Regions from separate parts of the Homo sapiens genome. Here region 1 is linked to region 2. The links are contacts of gene promoters, found by promoter capture Hi-C in blood cells and fetal thymus (Javierre and others, 2016). All regions are on one chromosome and are shown on one strand. The core of a region is centred on a gene start or on the middle of the fragment in contact, and the rest is flanking DNA. Distances in the headings are between cores, read along the strand shown. Region 1 overlaps NSUN2 (NOP2/Sun RNA methyltransferase 2). Region 2 holds the start of MRPL36 (mitochondrial ribosomal protein L36).

Region 1 (7,091 bases), core at 214-2,713, 4.8 Mb before region 2:
AGACAGGTTACCACTGTCTGCTGTCAGGTTGTCTCCTGGTACTTCGCAGTACAGACTGCACCAGCCAATGTAGCATTTCCGAGTCTCAGCACCCAAGCGTGCTACTACTCTGGGAGCTACCTCTTTCTTGACCTGTCCTGGAGGTGCCTTCTGGGTTACCTATTCCTCATGGCTCGGTTCTAGTCTCAGTTGTATGAAGGTGATCCCTTGTGCTGATAGCATCTTGTAAAGATGCTTGGAGAACTCCGGAGGCGCCAGTCCTTCAGTTAACTTACATAAGTGGGAAAGTCGTTATTATTAACTTTGAGGTATTGAGTTCTCAGAAAAGTAATGCACGAAAAGGTGAATTAAGCCGTTTTTTGTTTGTCTGTTTGTTTGTTTGGAGACGGAGTCTCACTCTGTCGCCCAGGCTGGAGAGCAGTGGCACCATCTTGGCTCACTGCAAGCTCCACCTCCCTGGTTCACGCCATTCTCTTGTCTCAGCCTCCCGAGTAGCTGGGACTACAGGTGCCCGCCACCACGCCCGGCCAATTTTTTTGTATTTTTAGTGGAGACGGGTTTTTACCTTGCTAGCCAGGATGGTCTCATCTCCTGACCTCATGATCCGCCCACCTCGGCCTCCCAAAGTGCTGGGATTACAGGCGTGAGCCACTGCGCCCTGCCAAATTAAGCGTTTTGCATCAACTTTTGAGGTTTTGACTATTCCAGTACGTAGTGTTATCTTTCCTTTTTGGATAACCTTTAGTGTTCGCAAATCAAGGTCAGATTTTCATTAATCATGGGGTACAGATTTGCTTGTTTTTCTTTCATTGGCTATTTGGATTTTCATTGTCCCTATCACAGATAAGCATATACATTCACAATGAATGCTGACTGGCCAAACATTAAGTCAGTATTCAACCAGTATCAAGACCGAATATCACCATCATGGAATGTGTTGCTGGGATATAGGAATAAATATGACCAACATCGTGAAACCCTATCTCTACTAAAAATACAAAAATTAGACAGGCATGGTGGCACACGCCTGTAATCCCAGACACTAGGGAGGCTGAGGCATGAGAATCGCTTGAACCCAGGAGGTGGAGGTTGCAGTAAGCCAAGATCATGCCACTGCACTCCAGCCTGGGCCACAGAGCGAGACCATGTCTCAAAAAGGGAAAAAAGAATAGATATGCCACATCTTAGATTTTTAAAAGCTTGAAGGGTACAGTATAGGAAAATGATACGGGTGCTACGTTGCTGTTAGTGGTCACTAATTGTCCACTGTAGTGAGATCAGTGGAAAAGGTAGATGTTTTTCAGCCTCTAGTTATGGCATTGCTGAGATGAGGTAACCTTCACGAGATCAAGCTTTTCTTCCTCCTGGTAACTAGGTTGTAGACTTTGCTCAAGTCGTTTGGTTTGAAGATTTGATTGACGACACTGATTGTGTTGTACTTGAAGTAGAGGTCTGATACTGTAGTAGTCCATTTTCACACTGTTATAAGGACATACCTGAGTAATGTATAGATAAAGGAAATAGGCTTAATTGACTCACATTTCCACATCGCCGGGGAGGCCTCAGGAAGCTTAAAATCATGGCGGAAGATCTCTCTGCACAGGGTGGCAGGAGAGAGAATGAGTGCTGAGCAAAGGAAGAAGCCCCTAATAAACCATCAGATCTCCCCCTGAGAACGAACTCACTGTTGTGAGAACAACATGAGGGAAACGGCCCGGGGATTTAATTATCTCCACCTCGTCCTGCCCTTGACACGTGGGGAATATTACAATTCAAGGTGAAATTGGGGTGGGAACACAGAGCCAAACCATCTAAAATATTTTAAGAAGACAGGATTACGATTCTCCTCGGGCATGTTTGTATTTTTAGCAGTGATGCATGTATGTGCTGCTTCACACAATCACCTGGAAACATTTGTTTCTAAAACCTTGTGTTTAGAAGCGCAGAGACGGGATAAGAAATGCTTTTAAGATGAAGAAGTTCCTGTCCAGGAGGAACGTTTCAGCATGTGTCTATAGGGAAGAGGTGTGCTCTTAAGGCACCTCCATGTGGGCATTTTCTTCTGCAGGCTCCAACAAACTAGGAGAAACCATACGATGTCAATAAGGCTTGCTAGTTTTTTATTATTCTCTGCAAACTACAGTTACACTTGGATTTGATCAGCCCTTTTAACATTTCATAGCTGCTTTTCCACCTTGTTTAACAATGTGTCTGGGTATATGACAAGGTAATTACCAAACTCTTAGAATCTGCAGGTTGTCTGTAGTTGAAGAATGAAGGTGAATTGCTCTCTGCCAACAGCCAGCTATGTTTTTGTTTGCTTTAATTTTCTGAACACACAGCTGAAGGGTATGAACAAAACATTGTAGATCTGGGTTTCTAATATTTGGCTTTTTCCATTATCAATGATGGTTTCTCTATATTTTATTTTGAGACAGGGTCTCACTCTGTCACCCAGGCTGGAGTGCAGTGATGTCATGACGGTTCACTGCAGCCTTGACCTCCTAGGCTCAAGTGATCCTCCCACCTCAGCCTCCTGAGTAGCTCGGACTACAGGTGCATGCCACCACGCCTGGCTAATTTTTTTTATTTTTTTGTAGAGATGGAGTTTCACCTTGTTGCCCAGGCTGGTCTTGCATTCCAGGGCTCAAGCAATCTTCCTGCCTTGGTTTCCCAAAGTGCTGGGATTACAGACATGAGCCACCATTCCTGGCCAATGCCAGTTTCTTGGCAGCTGTATTCTCTAAACATTTATTTATTCAAATTCATCTGTCAGTTTTAGGGTACTAAATCTCTCAGCAAGCAAGTAAAGCAGAAGCTTTCCAGGACTTCTGGTAATTTTCTGTATTGCTCAAGATGCAGGAATAGATCATGTAATATTCTTCCCAATCCTCTGGTACATAGTGAAATATAATTTAGGAAAACGTTTTTTGAAATTACATTTTCTAGAAGGAAAGTTATGTATAGGACCATAGCTTGGGCCAGTTTCATTTTTTTCTTACTTTCCATAGACTCAGAACAATGAGAAATTATCCTAAAGCATTCTTATAGAAGCATTGTTTTGACAACCAATTGTTCAGAGTGCACCTTATTATCATTCTATTTATGTGCTGTTTACTTATATTTTTTTTTGAGACAAGGTCTCTGTTGCCCAGGTTGGAGTGCAGTGGCATGATCTCAGCTCACTGCAACCTCCACCTCCTGGGCTCAGGTGATCCTCCCACCTCAGCGTCCCAGGTAGCTGGGATTACATGCCCCCATCACCATACCCAGCTATTTTTTCTATTTTTTGTACAGTTGGGGTTTTGCCATGTTGGACAGGCTAGTCTTGAACTCCTGACCTCAAGTGATCCGCCCACCTTGGTCTCCCAAAGTGCTGGTGTTACAGGCATGAGCCACTGCACCTCGCCTGTTACGTGCTTTTTAATGTCTAGATTGAGGATGGTTTGTCATAGATGTTGTATATATTTACAGAGTCCTTACCACTTGAGAATTTTTAATATGCAAAGATGACAGTGGTCCTTTTAACTTATCCTCTAAAAAGCCCAAATAGGATTTTTTCTTAAAAGACACAAGCTAAATTTGAAGTAAGTAACTAAAAATTAAATATACCTCTCATTTTGTTTGATGTTAAAATCTACAAAGATTTAATAAACATTTTTTGGTTCATAAAAAGATGATGCTGTTCCTAAAGCTGTATAAGAAACATAATTTAAAAACATTTCTTGTAGAAACAGGGCCTCGCTTTGTTGCCCAGGCTGTTCTCTGTACCCAGAGGAAATAAACATTTATCTGTTAGTTTCTGTTTGTATTTAAATATTTCAGAGTTCCTAAATGTTTCTTTACATGAGATCAACAGCCTTCACAATTATAAATACTGTAGAATTTTAATCTTGTAATAGTACGTTTACATTTTGACTATCAGAAATTTGACGAAAAAGACATATAAGGCTATATTTGTTCAAAGTATATCTAGACTGCTTATCTATATTTGAAAATGAAAATTCAGCTCTTTACAATAAGTCTAAATGGCATGTGGTGTTCATATTGATGTCTTAGTGATTTGGTAAGGCAATAACTTACATGATCGTACTAGCTTTGAGACAGACAAGTTCAGGAAGACCAGATACTATATGAGCTGGCATTTGGCTGTTTGCAAGTAGAGGTTACAGTGGCACAGCAGATATTTGCCCAATACTATAGCAAATGCCAAATTTGCATGTAACCTACTATTTCGCCTCTAATGAGTCCAAAAGATTATTTAAAACAATTCTTTTTAAAATTGCCTTATGAATATGATTTTCTTTTGGCTTTATATTTTTGAACACATTAAATGTCGAGGAGGGAACTGGGCTATATGAGATAGAATCAAAGCGCTGGGGACCTTTGGAGGGTGGCCGTGGACAGATTCAGCCAGTTTCGTCTTCATTATTTGGTAGAAAATGCTTTTCAGGTATATTTTGTAATATTTTGACTTGAGCAGTGTCGGGCTTTTAAGTCCTGAGTTTGTTTCCATCAAAAAATCAGAGTTTAAAAGCAGTCAAATGTGTTTGTGTTTTCCAGACATTCCAGTTTTATTTTCATGGTTTTCACTCTAGCTACAATTTGACGCATGGAAACATTGTGAGCCTGCATTGTTAAATTGAGTGTATTACTGCATCTCAGGTTTAGTGAGAATTGCTGAAACTACACTAAGATTTATGGCCGTGTGACGTGGTACACTTGGTTTGGCATTGGATTGAGCATGGTGCTGCATGACATCAGTGTGCTCATTTGTACGGTGCAGATGCCTGTATAGGTGCAGGCCAAGTTTCAAAGCACATCCTGGGTGGGGTACAGTGGCTCATGCCTGTAATCCCAACACTTTGGGAGACTGATGCGGCCGGATCACTCGAGGCCAGGAGTTCGAGACCAAGCTGGCCAACACGGCAAAACCACATCTCTACTGAAAATACACGTCTGTAATCCCAGCTACTCAGGTGGCTGACTGAGGCATGAGAATTACTTGAATCCAGGAGGCAGAAGTCACAGTGAGCTGAGATTACACCACTACACTCCAGCCTAGGTGACAGTGAGACTGTCTCAAAAAAAAAAAGGCAGTGTTTTTAGTATCCCCCATTTCTCCCCTAATTAAAAAAAATAAAAAAAATAAAAATAACATTGATGTCATCATTTATAGAAAGTTCAAATATATTCACAGATATGATGGCAGGAAATGCTTTATTCTTAGTTATATATAGGTAACAGCCTAGGAGCTCAAGTTAATGCATTAGTGGTTTCCAAGGTAGGATTTTTTTGGTATGTAAAATATTTTAGTGCATTATTGAACTGGTGTTAGAAATAATGAAAAATATATTTTTTAAAAAACTAATCAGGTATTTGTGGGACACTCTGACACTGCATTATTTTGATTCTGTGTGATCTGCACATTAAGTAAGTCATCTTGTATCTTTTTTTTCTGATGACCTTACCATTGTTACCTTATAATGGTGAAGAGCAGAGGAGTGTCCGCTTTTTCATCTGATCTCGAGCGTTTCATCATTATAATTTTACAGTAATATGCATAATCTTGTAACCCCCATGGCTCTCCTGTTTCTGATTGGGCCACGGTGTAGCTAGAGCCATGTTCCTTAAGCCTACAGCGACATCTCTGAGTGTTGCTGACTGTCCGTAGAGGATTGTGAATAGGAGCAGGGAGAACAACATTCGAAGTCTCATTTGGCATGCGACTGATAGAAGCACAAAGTTGTCAACAGACGACTTTAGTATTTATAATCCATAAATGTTTTGCTTTCTTTTTGGTCAGGTATCCTGAAGAACTTGCCTGGCACACAAATTTAAGTCGAAAAATCTTGAGAAAATCGCCACACTTGGAAAAGTTTCATCAGTTTCTAGTTAGTGAAACAGAATCTGTAAGTTGATTTCTTTAGACTTGCTAGTTTCCTTAAAGCTGTAAATGCATAGATGTAGTGTAGTTCTGTTTTTAGGTTCTTGTCACTAGAAGCAGTAGGTGGACATCACACACAGTAAAGACAACTGCAGTGTGTGCACCACCTGTGATTTCTGATTATTTGTATATCCGTTGCCTTGTTTGGTTTATCTAGTCATGAAATTTAGTAAGGATATCGATGCCAGCTAGTTAATTTCTTGTTTCCTCTTGCTTGTGTATTTGGATGGCTATAGGGTTGGGGTGAGCACTGCACTCTCATTTCCTTCTTAGGTACACATTTCAGATGCCTGTTGTACATAAAAAGTAGTATGTTTTTAAGGCCATCTTGGTAGGGAATAGGTTTTTGGTTCTGTTTTTTAAAATTGATTTATTTTACTAAAAATGAAGCTTTTGATTTTACTTTTTACTGTGTTTTTTTTTTTTCTTACCACACATTGCTCTTGGTAACCACAAAACACCTAAGCACCACAAAACCCCTAAGCACAGCTTTGGTCCTCACAGGACGGCATCTGTCTTCACATTCTCCGTAGCCACCCACATTCCTTGAGTGCAGTTAAGGTGCTGAGCTTTTTACCTTTAGCATCAGAGCATCCCCAGCAAAACAGCTATTTGCTTATGTACTAAATAATTCAATGAATGCCCATAAAGTTTGGGTATTTTTTTTGGAATTCTTAGTCTCACATTTAAAATCAGAGGTTTCGTCCTTCCTATTTTCTAAACTACTACCTTCTAGTAAATCTGTGTGTCACCAGATTATGGTTCTTTTTCACTTTGGCCTTCTGTCATCTAAGTAACCGACTAAACTGGGCTTGTGTCTGCCTGGCTTTTCCTTCCTGAATAGTAACAAGAACCAGGAACTAAGTGCTGCCACATAACCCCATTTCGTACTTGAGACCAGTGCACGAAAGGATTCTCTTGCTCAACTTTCAATCTAGATGGAAGGCCAAATAGAGATCAGTAAGCTGCTAGAGAACAGCTCAGGTTTGCACTTGGAAGAGAGCGTGGGGTTTGTGGGGTGTGATACACATGGATAGGTTGGAAGAGCCAGGTTTTGGCATGTTTGGAAGATGGAGGAGATGGGAGTTTAGGGTGGGTAGCAAATGTTGTAGGGAACTAGTATAGGTTTTTGATTAGGAGTCAG
Region 2 (6,955 bases), core at 855-3,354:
CTTAGGGCTTTTTTGTGCCTTGGACTACAACCGACTTCTCAGGTTACTAAAATTTATTATTGAATATTACACAAATTCTAAACGTTCTGACCCAAATAATCGGCTGCCACAAATCGCCTATGGGCAGCCAGTCCACAGCAAGTGCTGCCCGCTGGGGAGACTTCCCGTTCCAGAGCCCGCAGGCCCTGGAAGGACGAGACCCACCGCTACAGGCTGCCACCACCGTCCCGACTCGCGGGCGTCCTCCCCGGCGCGTGAGCGACAGCACAACCTTACCACGACCTGCGCTGCCGGCGCAGAACCAGGGCCGCGGATGCCCGGCGAGCCCACTGCCACCAGTCGCCCGAGGTGCGGCTGGAGGAAGGTGCATCCTGTACCCAGCGGCCGTTACCTGGCCAGTGTGCGTGACCTTCTCCCCGGTCGGCGAGACCCGCACCCCGAAACACCTGGCGCCCAGGGGCAGGCTCCGCGCCGCCTCGCCACACCGGTTCAGCAGCCGGCAGAAGGTCATCGCCGCCGCCATTTTGCGCCGCTGGCCTTTGACCCGGCGCAACGTCCCGCTTAGCGCTAACGCATGCGCACGGCTTCTGGCGGCGCCAAACACCCGGTATTTATTTCGCCCTGGGGGCGGGGAGCGCGGGTCGGGGCAGAGGGTGCGCCGGAGCTGCTCTCTGATTCAGGTGGTCACCCGTTTTCATCCCAGGTATCTCGCTAAAAATGCCCCTGATTACACCGAGTACTGTGCGCTTGTTTGACTTTTCATCAATGGCCTAAAAGTTAAGCGGCCCCGTTGCGCCGGCAGGTGCAGCCTCATGCAGTTGCAGCCGCAGGCTAGAGCTAGGGCCCTGATGAGGCAGGCAATGGTGTGCGAAACCTTCAGCGATTAGGAGTACCCAGTGGTTCTTATTTAGCGGACAGGCAGGGGAGGATGTAAACTGAAAATACATTGTTTATATTCTTATGGTAACCGATAATCATGAGACATTTAAATATCAAAATTATTGGGTGAAGGAGTCAACTGCTTAGCAGACGAGACTGGAAGTGCATTCTCCTCGTTCAAGGCAAGCGTTCCTGTGTGTGGTTACGGGGAGCCGCAGAGGAAACGTATATTGGGGATTTCTGCAACAAAGCCTAGTACACCGACTGATTTTACAGCATGCAAATACAGCCTCTAAAAAGGCCCGTTTTGCTTAGAGTTGACTTGGGTATAAATCCCAGCTTAAGCTCCAGCATCCAGCTTTTCTTTTGCTGTGGTCAGAGCCTGAGGACCACGTGACTCCAAGAACAAAACACTAGAGATGGATGAGTGGCGGGGAAGATGATAAAGAGGAGGAAAGGCATGAGAAACAAGAATGCACATGAAAACCTCCGGTCCCAAAGATGTCCCAGCAAACGTGGTGGTCAGAGGCAGATTTGTCCTGGAGCTGATAAACTCCAGCGGCCCGCCCGGTGTTCGCCGGGTCAGGTGGAAAAAGTGGGCGCTGCGATGAAGCGTTGGGGCCTGCAGGGAGCGCGGAGTGGACGCAGCCACGTCTGCAACTCACCCGGACACACACAAAAAGGAAGGCGAATGGAGTTACGGGTAGATACCTGAAAAGGCAGGGATAAGCGAGCTAAGGGTAGAATCTAGGTGGCAAGTATATGGGTGTTCACCGTACAGTTCTTTCCCTTTTTCTCTATGTCCGAAGTTTTTCATAATGTTGGGGAAAACAGCCGTAACCAGTTGAAACTACTGCCCGTCTCCACTCGTTTCCCGGAGCCTGTTTACATTTCTCCTGTCCACTTAAAAACATGTCCTCTTTCTCAGTTTGTTTTGACATTGGTATTTGCCAGTTTTTTCTAAGGCCTAAGTGGTTGTAATTTCTTTTTCGTTGCGGATATCCATTTTCGTTCCTGGTTTTTGCATTTTTTTTCCCGAGAGCGCTCCAAACAGCACGACGATCCCGGTGGCCCGCAGAGTGCGCGCAGTCGGGGAGTGATACGTCGCACTCCAGCGCCTGCGCACTCGCTGCTGCGTCTCTGCGCCCCGCACTGGACGTGGGCACGCCACGTGACCCCCCCCCCCGCCGCCATCTTCCTTCCTGGCAGCAGCGTCCGCGTGCCAGTGCGCAGACGCAGGGGTCGGCGCCGGGTGAGAGCGTGCGGCCGGGTAAGGGAGCCGTCTTCTCAGGTCAGGGGTCCCGGGTGTCTTGAGAGTGGGGGCTGCGAGAGGGTGGGGCCGGCCACCTTGGGACCCTCGGGCGTGTCTCCCCGAGTGGGCTGCGGTCAGAGGAGCGTGGGCCGGGGCCTGGCGGTCTCAGAGGGCCAGGGTTGGGGGGTGCGGGTCCGACCGTGGGCGCCCGACCTGGCGACAGGAGGGGGTGTCCAGCGACCCCGGGGCGGGAGAACTGGCGGCTCCCGAACGCGACCTCACAGCCCGCGCGCAGGGCCGGCTCCGGTGCCGCAGTGTCCTCCGGGCCCTGCAGGCCCAGCTCTTCCCAGCCGGGGCCGCTGAACCCTAAGGGCCGGGGCGCGTGGGGAAGCAGGGGCGGGCGACCGGGGTGCCAGAGTTCCGTGCTCTTCCGGAGCGGGGGCCTGTCCCGAAACTGGCCCGAGGGAGGGCCCCTGGGTCTGGGAAGAGTTGGAGGGAGGAGCTCATCAGTTGAACCGTCCTTGACCTGGTGTCTGTTTGGAAAGGGATGCGGCCTAAGTTTAAGCTCCCTCCCAGCCAAGTGAGCGGCTCCTCAACATCGCAGGGCTTTGCACACTCACCTACACTTGCAGCAGGCGGGAAAGGGAAGGAAGCCACCGTCCACTGCCCCTTATTCTCCTGGCACACTTGGCTGATTAAGGCAGTGTTCAAGCTCAGGTCGAGGCTGCAGCTGGTATGGGAACACCCTCAGTCCCCGAGGTCCCTGCCTTCCCAAGCCTCAGTGAAACAGAGAAAAGGAAGCCTTAAAGAGCAGGTGGAAGTGCAGGAGAAGCTATAACTCCTTTTTTTCTCTCTCCCATAGATTCACCACAACATGGCAAATCTTTTTATAAGGAAAATGGTGAACCCTCTGCTCTATCTCAGTCGTCACACGGTGAAGCCTCGAGCCCTCTCCACATTTCTATTTGGATCCATTCGAGGTGCAGCCCCCGTGGCTGTGGAACCCGGGGCAGCAGTGCGCTCACTTCTCTCACCCGGCCTCCTGCCCCATCTGCTGCCTGCGCTGGGGTTCAAAAACAAGACTGTCCTTAAGAAGCGCTGCAAGGACTGTTACCTGGTGAAGAGGCGGGGTCGGTGGTACGTCTACTGTAAAACCCATCCGAGGCACAAGCAGAGACAGATGTAGACCCTTTCCCTCCAGAGTCACGCACATACTCGTCATCGCATCACTTGGGAGAATGGTTGTATCTTATGGAAGGAATTATCACATCAAGGAGTCAGGGGAAAGTGACTGGAAGCAAACGCCCTAAAAGTTACCCATCACGTTTCAGTGTAAATGAGTAACTATAGAAGACATTGCGTTATCTTATTTCCAAAACGTTCCAACTAAAAAACATTTTCCTATTAAAATAGACCTTCCGAATAGCTTAGTTCATTCATTCTCTCTGAACTCAGGCTGCAGGTAGGGATTGGATGGTGCTGGGTGAGGCTGGGCAGGACTTCTCTATGTCTCCGTGAGGCTGCTTAGAGCCTCTTGGAAGAAGTGGTGTTTTGGTCACCCGTCGCTGTACAAGCCAAGGCTTGGTGGCTTAAATCAGCCATTTTACATTGTTCACGATTTTGTGAGGCATTTGGGATGGGCTCAGCTGAGCAGTTTGTCTGATCTGTGTGGCATTAACTGCAGGACCCACTTCCAAGATGGCACCGGCTCTCCTGTCTGGGGTCTCAGTGCTCCTCAGGCTGTACGTAGCACCTCCTCAGGCAGGGCCCACAGCGTGGCTTGCACTGCCCCACAGTGAGCTTCCCGAGAGTGTCCCGAGAGACCCAAGCAGATGCTACGAGGCTTCCTATGACCCAGCCTCAGAAATTCCAGCGTGTCATTTCTACCGCACTCTTTCAGTCCCTAGGGTGAGCCCAGATTCAGGGGGAGGCAAGGAGCTCCCCTTGCTAGAGGATGACCACACCTACAACTGGTAAGGACTTGGAGGGATGGAGTGGGCTGGTCCTTCCCTGGTCATCGGGATTCATAGTTGAGTGAGCCCCATGCCTTGGGGGAGCACTGTCATCAACATGAATTTGGGGGTGGGGAGCACAGTCCAACCCAGAGCAGATGCTGAGATGCGACAGCCTTCTCACGGCTCCTTTCCTCCTGGCCAGGGACACCTCCCCTTCTCCCAGAAAGGAGTTTTGTGAGACAGGAGACCACGCAAGAAGCCTAGCGCGGGGGGAGCGCCCTCCTGCCCAGATCAGCAGCAGGGGCGCAGCAGGGTCACCCAGAAAGGCCTGGTGGGGCGGCAGAGGGGGCAGCATGGCCACATGAGGGCCAAAGCTCCTCCCCAGCACCCACATCACTTCTCCAGGGGGAGCAGACGCCGGTGTGTGTTGCTGTGAACTCTGTGCTGTGCCCATTCACCCTCACAAAGGGCCTCTGCAAGCAGCTTGACATGGGCATTGCAGCCCGCAGGCGTCTGGCCAGTTGAAGAAGGTGGAGAGCGTTATTACCTGAAAGAAAAGGGAACCAGCTCTGCGAAGAGCCTGCTTCTGTTGTGCAGTGAAAGGGAAGCCCTCTCTCGAGCCGTTCTTAAGTGAGGAGTTGATGCACTAGAGTGTCTGTCACGGGGGCCCCTGAAAGTGTCAGAAGCCAGACCCCACTAGGAGACCTGTTATGCACTGGGGCTGAGAATAGTTCAGCAAGAGAGAGGACTTTCCTCAAGCGTGTGTGTGTGCGTGCATGTGTGTATATGGCACGTGTGTGTGCATGCATGAGTGTGTCCACATATATACGCGTGTGTCTGCATACACTACCTGAACAGGCAGTGTGGGAGGGTGTGATGGGTCAGTGGCACCGCTGTAGTGACCCTCAGCAGACTGCAACCTTCAGCCAGCGTGTGCTGTCCATGTCTCTGATCTCTCACGGGGTGGGTGATGTGGTTTTGAGAACCACAGGGTCCTGACAGCCCCCAGCATGGCTTGCTGATGCTTCCCGAGCACCCTTAGCCTGGGCCCTGGGGTGAGGAGGAGAAGAGGTGCTGCTGCCCTCACACCCTTACTGCGTAGGAGCGTGTGAAACAGGCTGGTGAGTGCTGTGTGTGAAGCATGCCAGGCCCTCCAAGGCAAGAGGTCAAGGATGCTCCCTGCAGGGGATGACGGCCAAGCTGAAACTTTGGTTGCAGGGGAGGCAACCCGAGGAGGGGCCTGAGGCTGGGCACGGGCAGGGGGCATCCAAGCCATCCTGCGTGGATGAAAACTGGGTGTGTTTCTGCAGTACGCAGTGCTCTGGGGGGAGACCTGACCACCGGCTGCATGCCTGCAGTTGGGTGTGATGTGCTTACGTGCCATGCAAACGTGGGCACACAGTCGTGGCCTCTTGACAATTGCACAGACAAATCCCCAGCAAGGCAGCGTGGCACAGGAGCCAACAGGAAGGAATAAAGAAGGCATGGATTTCATGGCACGCTTGATCCAACGGGGAAAGGTGGGATTCTGCTAATTTTGCTTGAGTAGAAATCTAAGGCTGATAATTACCTATCCAGGCTTCAGTCCAGAATAAGTGATTAATAAAAGAATTCTGCAGAACCAGGCCAGGAATCCTGGGCATCGGCACTGTGGACATCTGGGGCTGGGTTGTGCTCCGGGCCCATCCTGGGCACTGCCGGGTGTTCAGCATCCCTGGGCTCCACCACAAGATGTCGGGAGCACCCCACACACAAGCAGGGCCAACCAAAAGTGCCCCAGACACTGTCAAGCACTCCCTGGGGGGCAACACGTTTCCCCATCAATGAACCAGGGTTGCTGCCGCCTGCCATGACGAGGGCTGGGATGCAGGTGCACCACTGGGAGGTGATCTCGGAAGTCAGGATGGGGAGTGGGGATGTGAGTCAGGGAGGGAGAGGAGCTTCCAGGGCACAGAACCAGAGCGACACCGGGTGCCACCTTGTTGTGTCCCCTGAGCTCTGGCGGAATGGACCTTGGTGTCCTGTAGGGGATGAGGACTGGGGGGGGGGGGGCGTTTATCCACAGATGCTCGTCACTGGTGGTTGAGGGTGACCGTGTGGGGACTTAAATCCCAGGCACTTCCAAGCCACCCAAAGGTGGGCTGAGCAGGTCCTCATGGGCACAGAGAAAGGCGACTGCAGAGAGAGGAGGAGTGGGCACGTGGGCCGGCAGGGTCATCCTGTCAGGAGCTGTCCCTGCACTCGCGAGACCTACGGGTGGCCTGGGGCCCTGCCAGATGCCAGCCCTGTCTTGCCAATGTCCTCCCTGTCTCCTGAAGGTGTGGTGCCAATGAACTGAAAGACGGATTGAAAATACTGTGAGAAGTTAGAAGTGCTATTCAGGTGTACGTTATTAGGTTATTCTCTGAGGGACTTTTAAAGTAAGATCAACTGGGGACAGCAGTGCAAGTGAAGGAAGAGTAAATGATGCCCAGATGGAGAGAAGAACATAGGAGCTGTCTATGCATTTCCAGAAGGAGGCGAGGTGCTCTGTGGGACGCTGTCATGTTTGTATCCACCTAGGAGGCTACTCACGGACCAGGTCTAACTGATGGACCACCCACCTGGCAGCGTCGCTGTCACTCACCCAGGAGAGTGGGAGGCGAGACCGGCACTCCCAGGGTCCAGGTCTCCTTCCTGTGCCGGACCGGTGGGGGCTGGGGCTTCCCTGCCTCCCTGCGAGTGGGCATGGCTGTGAGACCTGCTGTGGCCTATGAGGCTGGCTGAGGGTCACCAGCAGGGTCTCCGAGCAGAGGTGATGTGCTGCTTTGTGGCGGAAGCACTCCACGCGGTGCATTCGTTCTTCCCCCAGCGATGGTGGAAGTGATCG

What was found. The method cuts DNA at HindIII sites, captures the fragments that hold promoters and counts their contacts. A CHiCAGO score of 5 or more calls a contact.
Region 1: a contact is called between a fragment that was not itself captured here and the fragment with the promoter of MRPL36 in region 2, in 2 of 17 cell types (erythroblasts and total B cells). The highest score is 10.2, in erythroblasts.

What each region holds. Positions count from the first base shown.
Region 1 is chr5:6,624,385-6,631,475 of GRCh38, reverse strand. It overlaps NSUN2 (NOP2/Sun RNA methyltransferase 2), which reads left to right. Exons shown (of 19, transcript NM_017755.6): 4 at 5,807-5,912. Among named protein-coding and RNA genes, the nearest start is that of NSUN2, 5.1 kb to the left of the region's middle. The HindIII fragment of the contact is 218 bases long and covers 1,355-1,572 here.
Region 2 is chr5:1,794,986-1,801,940 of GRCh38, reverse strand. It overlaps MRPL36 (mitochondrial ribosomal protein L36), which reads left to right and starts at 2,104. Exons shown (of 2, transcript NM_032479.4): 1 at 2,104-2,149; 2 at 2,994-3,556. The coding sequence starts at 3,006. The coding sequence ends at 3,317. It overlaps NDUFS6 (NADH:ubiquinone oxidoreductase subunit S6), which reads right to left and starts at 534. Exons shown (of 4, transcript NM_004553.6): 1 at 392-534. The coding sequence starts at 523. RefSeq lists enhancers at 155-294, 1-725, 905-1,034, 1,095-1,144 and a silencer at 2,225-2,634. The HindIII fragment of the contact is 7,489 bases long and covers 1-6,955 here.